Linked DNA regions of Homo sapiens: region 1 is linked to region 2. Evidence: promoter capture Hi-C in human tissues and cell types (Jung and others, 2019). All regions are on one chromosome and are shown on one strand. The core of a region is centred on a gene start or on the middle of the fragment in contact, and the rest is flanking DNA. Distances in the headings are between cores, read along the strand shown. Region 1 has its middle 33 kb from the start of MIR4483. Region 2 holds the start of PLEKHS1 (pleckstrin homology domain containing S1).

The links. The method cuts DNA at HindIII sites, captures the fragments that hold promoters and counts their contacts. A contact is called where the count stands out against the background at its distance.
Region 1: a contact is called between a fragment that was not itself captured here and the fragment with the promoter of PLEKHS1 in region 2, in 1 of the 25 tissues and cell types used here (aorta).

What each region holds. Positions count from the first base shown.
Region 1 is chr10:113,809,927-113,812,626 of GRCh38, forward strand. No RefSeq gene overlaps it. Among named protein-coding and RNA genes, the nearest start is that of MIR4483, 33 kb to the left of the region's middle. The HindIII fragment of the contact is 8,663 bases long and covers 1-2,700 here.
Region 2 is chr10:113,750,332-113,753,031 of GRCh38, forward strand. PLEKHS1 (pleckstrin homology domain containing S1) reads left to right here and starts at 1,351. Exons shown (of 13, transcript NM_001395068.1): 1 at 1,351-1,430. The HindIII fragment of the contact is 5,664 bases long and covers 1-1,764 here.

The DNA of each region.
Region 1 (2,700 bases), core at 164-2,663, 60 kb after region 2:
TCCTCTGTGCCCTCACTAGGAGTCAGACCCCTGGATGGACTTGCCAGATAGGGAATTAACCCATTTTCCATCTGGGAACCTGGCTCTCCTACGACTAAAGAAGGTATCTGGAGTACATGGCAGGGAATGGCATGAAAGAGCGCTCTCCTGTGAGTAGGAGATGAGCAGTTCTTACTCAGGGTCACTCAGCTTCTATAGGTTTCAACTTCCGATTCTCCCTAAAGCCACATGAAACCTTCAAATGTATCCTTTCTGTTCATGTCTCTTGGGCCATCAATTTATTCTACGTGCAGGGGAGGAGCAGATACTGCGGTGTGTTTATTGTCCAACAGGAATCACCAAAGACATTCCATAGGCTGCTAAAAGGCTGTTCATGTGTTACACCACTAACTTGAATCTGGAAACTGCAGTTCTGAACTGTAAGCCATTGTTTGGCAACTGATGTAAGATACATAGGTTTCACCAAGTATTTGTATCAACACATTGCTAGTCAGAATGAATAATCTGTATTGATGGATGTGCTCAGTGCCTGTGTGCTCACCCTGGGAGTGCTGAAGAGTTAGTGTGCCGTGCTCTCTAAACTCTTTCACTCACTTACTACTGGGCTGCTCTGTTGCTGTCAGCTCACTGCCTCATTTTATGGTTAATACAACCATTTTACACTTTACACCACCATGAGGGATTGATTCTTCCACTGTTGTACCTCCAGGCCCCAAACCCAAGCTGGGGGAAGTTCTGCTGTTTTATTTTTTATCTTTTTATTTTTGAGACAGAGTCTTACTCTGTTGCCCAGGCTGGAGTGCAAAGGCATGATTTCAGCTCACTGCAACCTCCGCCTCCCGGTTCAAGTGATCCTCCTGCCTCAGCCTCCTGAGTAGCTGGGACTACAGGTGTGCACCACCACGCCCAGCTAATTTGTGTATTTTTAGTAGAGACAGGGTTTCACCATGTTGGTCAGGCTGGTCTTGAACTCATAGCCACTACACCCAGCCAGTTCTGCTGTTTATATATTATATCAAAAAGCATTAGATAAATACATATTAATAAGTAAAATAAACATATTAGCTCAAAACATTTTCTCACCTGACATATCTTAATATTATAGCATACATCCATTGTGATAATTAGCTTGAAAAATATGATCATGTCCAAGCCCTGGCAAACCATGCAATACTTTGAAAAAAAAAAATAGCAATGAAGCTAACAGACTCATAGAATCTTCCAGGCAGGACCTAAGATCAATTACTTCTCATTCTAGTGGAGGAAACTGAGATGCAGGATAGTGGACTAAGTTGCCCAGTGTCACAAAGTTAGTGGCAGAACCAGGCCTACCTAAATTATAGTCTCTGAACACTAAGTCAACAGCTTTCATTACTATACTGGCTGATTAAGCAATATCTCTTTTCAAAGAATACTAAATAATTAGAAGTTGTGTGATCATATCTATGGCCCGGGGACAGGGCCAAGATGGCTGACTAGAAGCAGCAGCATTTGCAGGCTCCCATTGGGAAAAAACATAATAAGCGTGTGAATCCTTCACTGACAACCAAGGTATCCAGGTTCTCTCATCAAAATTGACTAGAAGCTGGTGTGACCCACAGAGGGAAGGAAGAGCAGTGTGGTGTGGCAGCCCACCTGAGAGCCACACAGGGAAGGGGAACCCCCTCCCCCCAGCCAAGGGAGGCAGTGAGTGAGCGTGCTGCCCAGCAGGGAAAACTGTGCTTTTCTCACGGAACTGTGCAACCCACAGATCAGAAGAGCCCACTTGTGAACCCACACCACCGGATATTCAGGACTTTAACTCGGCTCTGGATCAAGTGGACCTAGTAGACATCTACAGAACTCTCTACCCCCAATCAACAGAATATACATTCTTCTAAGTGCCACATAGCACTTATTCTAAAACCAACCACATAATTGCAAGTAAAACACTCCTCAGCAAATGCAAAAGAACTGAAATCATAACAAACAGTCTCTCAGACCACAGTACAATCAAATTAGAACTCAAGATTAAGAAACTCACTCAAAACCACACAATTTCATGGAAATTGAACAACCTGCTCCTGAATGAATCCTGGGTAAATAATGAAATTAAGGCAGAAATCAAGAAGTTATTTGAAACCAATGAGAACAAAGAGACAACGTACAAGAATCTATGGGACACAGTTAAAGCAGTGTTAAGAGGGAAATTTATAGCACTAAATACCCACATCAGAAAGCTAGAAATATCTTAAATGGACACCCAACATCACAATTAAAAGACCTAGAAAGGCAAGAGCAAACTAATCCAAAAGCTAGCAGAAGACAAGAAATAACTAAGATCAGAGAAGAATTGAAGGAGATAGAGACATGAAAATCCCTCCAAAAAATCAAATGAATCTAGGAGCTGTCTTTTGAAAAAATTAACAAAATAGATAGACCACCAGTAGACTAATAAAGAAGAGAGAGAAGAATCAGATAGACACAATAAAAAGTGATAAAGGGGATATCACTACTGACCCCACAGAAATACAAACTACCACCAGAGAATACTATAATGCAAATAAACTAGAAAATCTAGAAGAAATGGATAAATTCCTGTATATATACACCCTAACAAGACTAAACCAGGAAGAAGTCAAATCTCTGAATAGAGCAATAAGAAGCTCTGAAATTGAGGCAGTAATTAATAGCCTATCAACCAAAAAAGTCCAGGGCCAG
Region 2 (2,700 bases), core at 101-2,600:
AGGGGGCTTTCTTTTACGCATGGTGGAAGGTGAGGCGGGAGTAGCCATGTCACCTGGTGGGAGTGGGAGCAGTAGAGTTGGGGGAGATGCCACACACTTTTAAATAAAGACCTCAGTACAACTCACTATCTCAGACACAGAACCAAGCCATGAGGGATCCACCCCCAGGACCCAACACCTCCAGCCAGACTCCACCTCCATCACTGGGGATTACATCTCAACATGAGATTTGGAGGGGACATCCAAACTATATCAAAATTAAGAAATTGTTTTTCCTAAATCAAGCAAAACTGGTCCTGTGCAGGAAGCAAACAATATATCAATAATTTCTGTATGCCTGAAGTCCAGCTAGGTTTGCTAAATGAAGAAACCAATAACATCTACCCTCCATAGGATGCAAAAGAGAAAAACAAAGAAATACCCTCTGTTGAATGCTAACTGTGGATAAAGCACTGTGCTAGATGCTTTTTATATGTGAAATTTTACTTAACTTTAAAAAAAAATCCTGTGAAGTCAGTATTATCTGTTCCATTTTGCAGATGAGGAAACAGACTCAGAGAACTCCAGTTAACTTGCCAAGACCACACAATGGATCCATGGCAGAGCTGATTCCAGACCAGCTACCCTCGTGAGGATGAGGATTCAAATGATGTACTTTTACTTCTAAAGGCAGTAGAACAGGATAAAATTCATCATCACTTCTTCCTCTCCCCTAGAAATCTGTAATACACATGAAAATATACCTAAGACCCTTTGGTGGCTGGATACCACTCACCAGGTCTAAGAATGATGGTTTGCTCAATTGCTGTTGGTGGCTGTGCAGGGGAACATGCCTAGCGCCACCCTGTTGATGGTAACACTCTGTCATGGCTGAATGAGCAACTCTTCCTGGAAACCATTGGCATGTACAAGTGTTTAGAGAAGCCAGGCTTTTGTTTCCTCATCTGGTACAAAGGAACCCTTTCTACCCTTCCCAGGAAGACATTGGTTAAGATATGGCTGAGGGAGGCATAGGGATTTTTTTTCAATGGTAGTCACCACAGACGGTTGAGGGTAAATTGGCGTTGTTCTCAATAAGGGTTATTGTGACCATGGTCCAAAGTCTGGCAGGAATTTTTTTTTATTATTAATGTGTTTGCTTTCATTTTTGGTGCTAGGCAGCTGGGACACCAAGGAGAGTTCTGTGGCAAGCCACAAGTATGAAGGCCCAGAACTTCCCCTGAGGGCATAGCTTCCATTTCAGTTTGGGGCAAGAATAAAATCTGCTCAAGGATATTAGTTTGGGAACTTCCTGGTGGTTCAGATTTCAAGCAGAGTTTGTGCTTAATCCTCACCCAGGCACCAAGGCTCAGAGTCAGCAGGAGTGAGTTCAGGAATCCTCGGGACAAGGCACTTTCCTGAGCACTGGACCAGCGACCTCTTGGCTTCCAGTAAGTACTGCTTGGTGTATCTGGTTTGGACTTCCAAGGCTGGGATGATCTAGAAGCTTTTTTGCAATTGAACAATTGCAAAATTGGAAATGGAAAATTTTGCAGATATGCTGTATTTCTGTTATGGGCACTTTCTTCATAAGCTTCCTAGGCTATACTATAGTCAGAGGGAAATAGGACTGACCTCTTGGTATACTGTATTCACCAAATCCAAAATAATGTTATAATAAATGGGTCAGGCAGTGACTGTGGGGAGATTCTCCTGAATGAGATCAAACAGCTAAATCAGAAAGGCTTTCTTTTTTGTTTGGGGGCAATGACAAGAAAAACAAGCAGAACTATGAAAAGACTTAATTCTACTTTCTTAGATAGGAGGAAAAGCAAAGTAGTTAAGGCCAGCTCTCAAGCTAGAATTCTGGTTCTGCTTCTTTTTAATTACATGATCAAAGTAAAGTTGTTTAATCTCTCCGATAACCATTTCCTCGTCTGTAAATGGGCATTGTATCATTGTGAAAACAGTGCAAGCTTTAGAGTACGGTTATGAGGTTAGGATGAGATTTTATATGTATATGTGAAATTATATGTATACATATACATAAAATCTTTCATATACATATTGCTTAGAAGTGCCTGGAATGTATTAAGTACTCAAAAAATGCTACCCATTATTAAACAACCATAGAATCATAGAATATCTGAGCTGGAAAGGACCTAACAACTAGCATTTATTGAGCTTCTATTATGTACTGAGGAGTGCTCATCAACAGGGTATCTCAAGTGATACTCCCAGCAATCTGATGAGGGTAGTAATAACCTTCATGTTACAGATGAAGAAATGGAGGTGTAGAGAAGTATTATAAAGTATCCAAGATCACATTCCTCATAATTCATGGAGATGAAATTTAAACCCAGATGCCAGAGCTAACACTCTAAACCACCACACCCTACTGCCTTATCTGTCCTCTCATTTTACGGTGGGTGGGGAGATGAAGGAGGAATGGTTGCAGCACATGACTCTGGAGCCCTTTGCAGACACTGGAAGGACAGAGATGTCCTCCAAAGCACACTTTGACATCCACAGGGCACAGGGAGGGCAAATGTTATTTGGGAGTGTCCATGAGCATGAATGTGGTGCTGTGTGGAGTTCTGCCAGGGGACCTAGGTCCAAGTCATCTCAGTCTTCTCTCAAATGCAGCTTTTCATTTGTAAAATGAGCTATCTCAGAATGAAGCCATTCTGAACACAAAAAAATAATGTATGCAAATGCATT